Regions from separate parts of the Homo sapiens genome. Here region 1 is linked to region 2. The links are contacts of gene promoters, found by promoter capture Hi-C in human tissues and cell types (Jung and others, 2019). All regions are on one chromosome and are shown on one strand. The core of a region is centred on a gene start or on the middle of the fragment in contact, and the rest is flanking DNA. Distances in the headings are between cores, read along the strand shown.

Region 1 (5,447 bases), core at 967-3,466, 64 kb before region 2:
CCTGCCGGTCTGCAGTTACTGCCACAGGCATCAATGGCAATAACCAGAATAAGCATTTATCGAGCACCTACTGTATTCACAGAACTCTGATCAGTGAAGCAAACAAAGCCAAGGAAGGTAGAAATCGCAGAGTCCAAACCAGAGTCTAGGGCCTGAAGTGCACTGCATGGGCCAGGTTAAAGTAAATGAAACATTCCTATTTTGATCCCTTTCATTATTTATCGTTCATACCCATAAATACTTTTAAGGGGATCAGTTTAGATGCAAAGTCAACAACAAATAGGCAACGAATCTGTTCTTCCAACATTTTTTTTCTCCTGAAAAGACTCTCTGAAAGCCCTGTTTTAAAGAGACTTGCTCCTTTTGCACGATGGGTAAATCGCAGGACCTGGTAGATTATGCTACATAATGTGGAAAGGTTGCTTCGTCCAAGAGCCTGGAGTTTTCAGAGACTTTGTCCTGAAACTACCCTCCTTGGGCAATACCAGCGCCTGCAGGCAACAGCTCTCATGTACTTAAGATTTAAATACAACCCACAGAAGTGCTGGCTTGTCTGGGAAAACCTTTTACTAAAGAGAAGAGCAACATTTTTTTTTCTTTTCTGGAATTTGTAAACAGCATTTATTCTCAGCCTTGCCTTTGAAATGTTCCACCTGGAACACTGCTGGGCAGCGTGGAAACAGAAGCGAACGTCAGCCAAGCCGGCAGGGGGCGGCAGACCCCACACTTCGCCGGGCGCCCTCGCCTCCCTGGGAGTGAGCGTGCAGCTGCCAAAACCTGTCGCTGGTTTCAGGTCCAAGCGCCTTCAGCCAGCAGATGGTTCATGTCCTTCGAGGCGGCAAAATATGGGGTGGAAGGAGTGGGGGGTGAGGCTGAGAATGGGGAGAGCAATCCAGGGTCGCCAGGGTGGGAGCCGCAGCTGGCCCGTGGCCGCCCGGAGGATACTGATGCTTCTGGAGTGCGCGAGGGGCCCCGCAGGACCGGGGCCCGCAAAGGCGCGGGCACTGGGCGGGGACGCGGGCGCGGCGTGGTGCCGGGGCGGGAGGCGGAGGGGTGGACGAGGGGTGGACGAGGCTCGGGTGGGCTGACCCCTTCCCGCAGGGCCAGGATGGCCAGGGCGAGGCCGCCGGGAAAGGCAGGACCCTCGCCCCTACGCCGCCAGCTGGGCTTTTCTCCTTCTCGCCAGCTCCGTGTTCCAGGGCGCGATCTCGCTCCGTCCACCCGCCGGCTCTGGGGCTGAGCCTCAGGTAGGTGGGTCGGAGGTCCTGTGAGAAGTGAGGGTTGAAGGCGTTTCTGCTTCCAAGCGCAAGCACGGGGAGCCCGGATGCTCCAGCCCCTGGACCCTGGATTAGAAACTGGCAAGGGTAGATGTTTTGCAGGAGGTTGCCCTCTGCCTTCCTCTGTTCTAACACCTGCTGGATTCAGGGAGTCCTAGTACCTGTATTTCTGACCCGAAAAACAGAACAGCAGAACATCCAATGTGATGGGTTAGGCCTCCTTAACGTGCCTCGTTTGACTTTGTAACCTTCCTTCCACAGACTGATCTTTTTCGTGCAATTGATGTGATCCTGTGTCAGCTATACAAAACAATTTTTGTTTACTGAATCTGGTTTAAAAGGCAAGAAGTTGCTTCCCATAGGGCACATTGATCCCTGGTGGAAAGGGATGTGTATGCCCTGAAACATGGAGAGTCATATGCGCTGCTTGGTTTTGTGTAGATTAAAGTAACATGAGATGATGTTTTCACTGATTTTCAGAATTATGGAGAATTCACTTAGGAAAATATATGTTTCAATGCATGACCAATATGGGTATTTACTTTAACTGATTTCACAGAAGCAGTGCTCCTGTTTTGAGACACACAGATTTTATTTGGTGCCTCTTTATGGTATGATCAATTAGCTGCTTACTTCATAAGTTATGTGGAGTGGGGAAGGTACTTCCTGTTTTCTCTTTAAATGTCTTTTCTCTGATTTGAAGAAGTAATAAAGGAGAAATCTTTTTGCAGTGTTTAACTTTTATCCTCCACTATTCTGAAGTTCAAGCTTCAATAATTAATATAAATACAGTAAAATTAATACTTTAAAGGTAGCTGATATGCTTAATAACCAGAAAATATTTCAATTAAAAAAATTCCATTCCATCTAGTGTTTTGACCCATATGATACATATGCATACATGTGTAAAAGTGTATATATATTCATACGTATATGAAAAAGATACTATGCACTATACTGAGTTTATACTTTTATTGTGCATCACTAAGACCGTTTTTGACTTTAAAAAGTAGATTATGTAGACCTGCGAAACAAGCAACAAAAATGAAAACACTGCACTTTTTTGTGGTTCTCTAAACACACAAGAATAGTGGAGGTCAGGATCCATGCTGTTGGCCAGGCATTAAGTTGGCGTTATCAGCAATCACTGTAGTGCCAATGAATGTGAATTCCCCACATGTCGTGCCTTGGGAATTGCTCCTTTGACTAGATTACTGGCTTGAGGTTGTCGCTGTTGTCTTTCCTACAAGAGTAGAAAACAAGCGCACAAAATTGGATTTAGGTAAATGGAAATTTAATGCAGTCACAGCAGTGCCCCACACAAAGAAGGCAATCAACAAATGCAGCCTTGATAAGGGTCCCTCCCTAGGCCAGTCGTCACCTACTCCCTCTGTTGGATGACAGCCCTCCGGTATCTGCACTCAGTTCCCACGTTCCCGAAGCTTCTCTTCTCAGACTACGCAGCGCCCAGAGCTTCAGGTCTCTCCATATCCTTCATCAACACTTCCTGAAAGTGTGAGACCTTGGAGAAGCCCATGTCCTCCAGATGTGGCCAGGAGAGCTGAGACAGAGCCCTGGGGTCCTTTCTTATCAACCCTTGGTTGGGGTGTCCTAGTTCTGTAAATTCTACAAATAGCCATTTTTAAAAATACCATTCATTTTACACCAGTAGCTCAGCTGTCCTGGGTGAGCTCCACACCCTCAACTCTGTAGCTGATTACATAGTTCATTATTACATTACCCAGTCTCAGGTATTACAGCAATGTGAGAACGACTAACACACCTATGGACTTCCCACCTGGGAATATTAGGATTTAACTCCTTTTAATGCACCATCAACATCAAAACACACACCACACACATGCCACATATACACACATCCCATATATACACTATGCACACACACACCACATACACCACAGACACGATGCACAACACACAGACACAGCATACGCACCACATACCACGTACACACCACACTGTACACAACACACATACACACCATAAACGCCAGACACACTGCACACACCTCACACCATACACACACCATACACATACCACACACACACCACAAACATCATACATACTACATACACACACACATCCTTTTGCTATATGTACCTAACATAATTATGTAATTATATTGTAATTTTGGTTAAGTAAATATTCAGTGTTCATATTTCTTCATGACTATGAAAATGCTATTTATAACTGAGGCATGTAGTATACTCTTATATTTCTCCCTAGAATTCGTTGTTTTCTTTTCTGTAAGATTTTATGTCATTTTTCTAATTCTACTCCAAATTCTCAGTTTTATAAACCTTTTCAATATGCCCCCAAACCCATTAGGCCATCTAGCAATGTTCTTAGAGAGAGCTTCTCAGGAGCCATCGTCCCTGCTCTGGCCTGGCCTGGCCTGGGTGCACGGCCGGCCTGCTGTCCATCTGTCGTGGGATCTCCATGGACTGTCATCCAGAAGATCCCCTTGCCTCTCTGATATTTGATCCCCCATTTGTTGAATCTCACATCTTCCTTTTTCAAAAAAATTACTTCCTCATTTTGCCAGAGCAAATCTCTGTATCTGATACTGAATGAAATCTAGTATCATCCTTAGAATACATGGAAGGTATTTTTTAATTGAGAAATTCCCATAAGAATATTAACCATCTTAAAGTGGACAATTAGTTTTATGTAGTACACGACAACCACCACCTCTATCCAGTTCCAAAACATTTTCATTACCTCAAAATACAATGCAGTACACAGTAAGCTATTACTTTCCATGACCCCATCCCAGCCCTTGCTTTCAAGGTTTAGCCATGCAGCATGTACCAGTGCTTCATTCCTTTTTGTGGCTGTATAAGCCACAATTTGTTTATCCCCTCGTCTATTGATTGATATTTGGGTTGTTTCCAGCTTGTGGCTTTTGTAATAGTGCTGCTATGAACCTTCTCATGCAAGGTATCTGGGTACTTGTTTTCAATTTTTTTGTCTATATACCTAAGAGTAGAAGTGTTAGATCATATGGTAATTCTATGTTTACCATTTTAAGGAACTGCCAAATTATTTTCCACTGTGGTTGAACCATTTTATATTCCCACCAGCAATGTACAGGATTCTAATTTCTTTACATCCTCACCACCACTTGTTATTCTCTATTTTTTAAATTATAGACATCCTAATGCATATGAAGTCTTATTTCATTATGACTTTATTGGCATTTTCTTAATGACTAATGATGTTAACCATCATTTCATGTACTTGTTGACTATTTATATATCTTTTTTGGAAAAATGTCTCTTTACATTCTTGTTTTTCTTTTTGTTGTTGAATTGTAAGTTTTTTTTTTTTTTCTCCCATTTCTCTTCTTGTTTGCCCAAAGAATACTGTGCTGGCAGTGAGCTGCACTGCTGCACTTTCTTTTTTCTAAACAAGAAATGGGTTAAGTGATGGTGGTCTCACCCTGTCACCCAGGCTGGAGTGCAGTGGCCCAATCATAGCTCACTGCTGCCTTGAACTCCTGGGTTCAAGTGATCCTCCTGCCTTGGGCTCCCAAAGTGCTGGGATTACAGGTGTCAGCCACTGAGCCCAGCCTAGAGATTTTAATATATTCTGGATACCAGGCCTTTGTCAATAGATTTGCTTCATCAGTAGGTTTTTTCACTTTGTTGATTATGTCCTTTGACACATAATAGCTTTTAATTTTTTTCATTACTCTTCAATTGTTTTCCAGTTTTATTGAGATACACTTGACAAAAATTGTATATATTTAAGATGTACAAGGTAATGTTTTAATATAAATGCACATTGTGAAATTATTACCATAATCAAGCTAATTAAAGTATTCATCATCTCACATACTTTTGTGTACATGGTAAGAACACTTAGGATCAACTCTTTTAGCAAATTTCAAGTATGCAATACAGTATTGTTAACTGTAGTCAGCATTCAGTTCATTAGATTTCCAGAACCTGTTTATCTTGCAAAACTGCACATTTGTATTTTTTGACCAATATCTCTCCATTTCCCTCTTCCCCAGCCCTGGTAATCACCATTCTACTCCGTTTCTAAGAGTTCAACTTTCTTAGATTCCATATGTAAGCTTACACAGTATTTTCCTTCTTTGTCTGGCTTATTTCACTTATCATAATGTCCTCCAGGTTCATCCAT
Region 2 (6,029 bases), core at 1,314-3,813:
CTCATCGATTCATGCAAAGTCCTCGGCCAAAGTCCCCCTGCTCCCCACCTCTGGGACTTTGTCCTTCCTCAATTTAAGACATTCCGGGCTGGAAAAATGGATTATTGAGCAGGAGTTGGCTGATGCATTCTAAAGCTAATCCACTAAAAAGCACTTGAGAGATATATCAAAAGATCACAAAGAAATAGATGCTTTAGGCCCATATCCATGTCTTTACCCCGCACTTTCTGCCAACTTGAACTCTCATTTTCAAGAAGAGTTGTGTTTTGGTTAATTCTATATAGCTCACAGTGTGACTTCAAAACACACAATAAATCCACAAAGTGTGTCCTACAGTGAGTTCAGTTAAACTTTCTGAAGAGTTTTTTTGAAGTATAGCAGAGCAGGCTACAACTGATATTCAAAAAAAGAAAACTTCCATTTATTTCCCCCTTCAATTAAGTTCTCTGTGTTATGTTACTATGCTTCATAGCGCATCGCTGCTGAGATCCCCTCCCCAGCTCATGTCCCTAGGAAATATCCCAAAACAGAATCAAACTTTTCTCTTTTCAGTTTGAAATAATTTTCCCCCATTTTTTCTTCTCTTATTCACCTCTAGGACTCATATGGCAATAGGATTTGATAGGGCTTATTTGCTGGCAAGGAAACATCAAACAAATCTTTTAGTGGAAAAATACATTTATATTATAGGCAAAATGCAGATGTATATTGCTACTGATGCAAATGTATTTTATTAATGGTGTGAGAATTTCTTCCTCACTGTGGTGTGTGAATGTGTATGCATATTTGCATGTGTAAAAGACTTAATTTGTGAAATGGAAGATGTTTCTCCACTTCCCACTAAGCATGGCTGTAAAAGAAACTTTTCCCTCTCCCCGGGCATTGCAGCACACTGGAAAGATGATACATCCACAGAAAACCTGGCTTTCCAAAAGAGCTTATGAGAGAATGTGCCCACCAGGTGGGTTAAAACATATGTTAATCCTGTGGCAGAGAAGTTTGATCTAGCCTTTGGGTGTAGCCCACTGAATAAGTTCATAGTGATCTATGTCCTAGTTTCCATGCATTGAAATATAATATTCATACCCCCCAACATACACCAATTTCTTACAAAAATTTCTTTAATTTTCTCCTGCTCTGTATTTTCTTTGATAGCTCCTTGAATGGCTTCCACTAAATTCAAATGTATTTGACTCTAAAGTGCAACTTGTAAAATTTTATCTGGTAATTTATAGATTGAATTTCAAGCGTACATTATTTACATGAAGAACTACTAGCAAATCGTATGATTCCGTTTGTATGAAATGTTCAAAATGGCAAAGATATAAATACAGAAAGTAGATTAGTGGTTGCCAGAAGCTGCAGATTGGGGGTAACAGCTAAGGAGAGTGGAGTGCGTTTTTGGGGGTATGAATAGTTTTAAAATTTATTCTGATGGTGGCTGCACAACTCTCAATATCTTGAAATCCATTGGATTGTATGCCTAAATGGGTGAATTCTATATGTTAATTATATCTCAATAAAGCTTTTTTTTTTTTAAAGAAAAAGAAGTACTAGGACATGTTTAGAATATTCTTTCAAAGGCTTAAACAAAGCTGAAAAGTGAGAAGAGCCCTAGATTCCTTCTGGGAAACCTGGCTTAAATCCAGTTTTCTTTATTTCCCAGATCTGAGAATTTGGTCACTGAGCAAATAACATGATATTCCTAAGTCTGATTTCTTTGTTTATAAAATGAGGATGAATATGCTACCCTACCTATACCACGAGCTAAATAAGCTAGTATTTGTAAAGGATACACACTCACACTCACATTCACACACAGGTATGTATGTATGTGTAAAAATGTAGGGACCTAACCCAAGCAACTGAGTATTTGTTGATCACTATCTGCACACAGCATCTGGCAAATGGATGCGTGTGATTTTTCCGGGGATAAGAGGCAAACGTATACTGATGGAAAGCCTTCCTCAGGCCATAACAAAGGGAGAAATGCTGAGTCCCCGACCCTGCCGCCACCATGAACTGGTGAGAGAACGGAATATATTCAAAGAGATATTTCACTGTTTTAACTTGCAAGTGAGGGGAGCATGACACCGTAACAGAGATGATATAAATTAGTCAAACTGAGAACCAGGCAAAGAGCTTAGCCGTCCTTTGCATAATTAGCTACATTGGCTCTTTTTCAATTAGACTGGCCATTATGTGGGTGCACTCATTTAGATTTGAAAAATCACCCATTATTTTCTCTGCCCATTCATTCCAGCACCCTGACAATCTTCACAGGAAACTTAAACTTATTTCTTGAAGAATTCCTCAATCTTATACAAGATTTTCAACTGGAAGTTTCATGAATCAAAAATTAAATGAATTGCACATAAAGCCATGGCATATGTATTTTTACTACATTGTGGGAGAAAAAATAATTCTTATAATTTAAAAAAACTATGTCTTACCTGATTTCAGAAATAAAAGAAGTAGAAGAACCACTTCCTTATGTTCCATTTTGGGACTGGCCAGCAGTGCCCAGAAAGTGGGTCCCAATCCCAGGATGTTGTTGACTTACATGAGAGTAAACGCATCCACAAACCAGATAGTCAAATTAAGTTAATGATTCTCTCAGAGACCCATGCCACTGGCTCAGCAGGGTTCAAACATTACCTTGAATAAAGAGTCCTTACAACATGTTTGAGGGTGGAATCTGCAATAGATGCTGGGAAGTGGTGAAAGCAATCTCCCCCCTCGGCTGCTCCACGCTGCCGTCATGTCTCCTTATTCCTTCCCTCACCCTTGTACTTTATCTCTCGCAATTAGTCTTATTTCCTCCCCTCTTCTCTTATTCCCTTTCTTTTGGAGAAAATGAAATCATAAAAGTATCTCACATTTGCTGGAACCTTCCATGACGAGACCCTCTGCCAAGCGCTGCACGTCCATAGCCTCCCTCAAGCTTCCCAACAGGCAGGGCTGTTCTCATTCCTGCTGTACGAGGGATGGGGCTGAGGCCTTCCCCAAGGTTGTGTCTCTACCCAGGGGTGCAGCTGATAGACAAAACCCCTTCAGGTCTTAGATGACAAACTTAAGTTAGGTGTAAACGTTAATATCTCTACATCCTACACCAAATGACATAGAAATTACGACATAAGTGAAAGTATCTTATTATCTTCAAAATTTATTTATTCCCAGTGAACTCACATGTTTTCTGTAATTATAAATTATGTTATAAGACATCAATCTTTCCCCCAAATGAACGTATGCCATATTATTATATTCTCATTCTCATGAAATAAAGCAAGACTGGTAGCATTAAGTGGAAAGCGTCTATCTCAATTTTAAATGTTGAATCTGTACTTTTCCCTGGCTTAAGTCTAGAGCAACCAGGTAGTATATATGCTGTAAAACTTCTATTTTAGTGTTCAAAGATATTTAGGAATAAATCAATTGACCTCTCTATTTTAGATGTGAAATAAGGACCAGAAAGCATTGTTCCTCTTTCCAGGCAGTGAAATTCCTGCCTATTCATTAACTGGCAAAAGAGTAGAGGTGGGAGCCCAATGGTCTTGGGTGGAATGTCCTGCGGAATTCCCTGGGATTGAGGAACCATGCAGAACCCTCAAGAAGAAGCCACACTGGGCAACAAGAGGGTGGCCCCATGTGAGGGACAGGGGGACCGAATCGCTTTTCCTGATTTCCTATTTTAGCCTCACTCTCTTCTCTCCTCAAATTCTTACCACTCCCTTTATCCTCTCTGACTCACCTCATGGCCCAGTTCATTAAAGGGGACAGAAGGTGGAGGCAGATTGAGAAACCAGCAGTGGGCAGACATTTTATTTTTAATGTGAAATGTCTCTTAGGGGGCTCATGTTGATGTGCTTGAGAAAGTACTCTGGGAAAAAAAAATACTCTACTAATATATAATGCTTCCAGCATGTATTTATTTCCACTTAAAATATTATTGTAGCAGTTCCTCTTGGATAAGGCACCTTGGGAATGATGTTATCAGAAATTCTACATCCACATAATTTTCTTTTCCTGTTGTTTTGGTTTTGACTTGGGTGGTGTTGGTATAGCTTTTGCCCACCTTTCCCCTGGTAGTTGTTGGATGCATTAAATTCTACAAATGTGATTTTATAAATTAGTTGCCCTCCTAATGGCCTCCTGGCTGTACATTCTTCCCTACCTTCATAATCCATCAGCATCGTGAAAGCACAGAGGGACGTTGAGCAGAGCTCTGTGCTGGCGCCACCGCACTCTGTAGCCTGTAAGAGAGCAGCAAAGAGGAATGTGTTGCTCAGGTATAGACGGGGGTGGGTGCATAGAGACTTCCGCTGCGGCATGGCCCTTCATGTCCAGGGTAGGCATGAAGCAATGGACTATTCCAGGTTGTGCATAGGAAACCACACAGCACTCTTGGAGGGATTTTTGCTCTAAAGACAACTAATTCAAAATAAGGCGCTTTCTACCTGAAAGAACAGCATGAACTAAGAAAAGAGATATATAGAGAGATCTCTGTGTACTATGATCAGGTTGCACATATTCTGGGATTTATGTATTCTTATTAGTTCAATTCCTTATTTATTGACCACTTACTGTTTACAATATTGTATTAGATTCTTTTAGGATTACAGTTGACCCTTGATCAATTTCAGGGGTTGGCACACTGACCATACACAGTAGAAAATCCAGGTATAACTCTGACTCTCAAAAACTTAACTACTAACAGCCTGCTGTTGACCAGCAACAGTTAATAACATGTATTTTGTATGTTATATGTATGATATACTGTATTCTTACAATAAAGTAAGCTAGAGAAAAGGAAATGTTCGTAAGGAGAAAATACATCTGTGGTACTGTTATGTATTTTTCCATACAGTAAGTTTACACCACCTGTTTACAAGATGAATCATCTGTCTGAAATGGAAGCAACCCCAGCTACAGACCTCAGTCTCTGTTACATATCAAGCAAATCCAGTTTTTCTTGTAATGTCAAATGTCATGACTTTTCTCTGCTTCTTGGGAGCACTTCCAGCATCACTAGTGCCACTTCATATTGGATCCCATGGTGTTATTCAAGGTTTACAGTACAGCACGAAACAGGACGAAAAATACATGCGAACAGGGAGAGAGCACTTTTTACTGTGATGCGCAATTCACTGGGGATGAACTGCTCATGATGGAATGTTGAGTATCACAGAACGTTTTAAGTGGATACTCGCAACACCTTTGCTCATTGCAACAGCAACAGGAGGAGGATATGAAATTATTACCATAGTGTGGTATGCACTACGGTTAAATTTATGCAGTTACAATTTAATACTGCATCTTGATGTTTGTATACACTTCTCTCAACTGAGAATAGCACCATATACGATCTGTGAGTGTGTACACAATTTTTACTAAATTTTAACTTTTGCAATAGTTTTGTTATATTTTATGGTAGTAAAGAATAAAATAGACTAGGTATCTACATATATTTTATGCATTCATGACATACTTAACTTTTTCTATTTTTGTTGATATTTCTAGCTGGATGGTTTGTCTTTGAGTTTTTTCAAATTGTTGCAAAACTCCAAAACATTTTCTAACACATTTATTGAAAAAAATCTGTGTGTAACAGTTCAGACGTGTGTTGTTCAATGATCAACTATATGTCTAAAGAGTACAAGTCAGTCTCTAACCTTCCCCAGCCTCTCTATGCTAAAGGAACTACAGGAAACTTTCGCACGCAAGATGTGTGGAGATTCTGCTGCTGCACTTGTAGCAGGCATAGGAACGTTCAAATAGGCTGGGCGCGGTGGCTCATGCCTGTAATCCCAGTACTTTGGGAGGCCAAGGCAGGTGGATCACGAGGTCAGGAGTTTGAGACCAGCCTGGCCAGCATGGTGAAACCCCATCTCTACTAAAAATACCAAAAATTAGCAGGGCATGGTGGCATGCTCCTGTCGTCCCAGATACTGGGGAGGCTGAGGTGGGAGAATTGCTTGAACCCAGCAGGCAGAGGTTGCAGTGAGCCGAGATCGTGCCATTGCACTCCA

The links. The method cuts DNA at HindIII sites, captures the fragments that hold promoters and counts their contacts. A contact is called where the count stands out against the background at its distance.
Region 1: a contact is called between a fragment that was not itself captured here and the fragment with the promoter of PLG in region 2, in 1 of the 25 tissues and cell types used here (liver).

What each region holds. Positions count from the first base shown.
Region 1 is chr6:160,762,833-160,768,279 of GRCh38, reverse strand. No RefSeq gene overlaps it. Among named protein-coding and RNA genes, the nearest start is that of PLG, 63 kb to the right of the region's middle. RefSeq lists silencers at 937-1,066, 1,127-1,236. The HindIII fragment of the contact is 3,667 bases long and covers 383-4,049 here.
Region 2 is chr6:160,698,778-160,704,806 of GRCh38, reverse strand. PLG (plasminogen) reads right to left here and starts at 2,563. Exons shown (of 19, transcript NM_000301.5): 1 at 2,454-2,563. The coding sequence starts at 2,502. The HindIII fragment of the contact is 7,159 bases long and covers 1-5,247 here.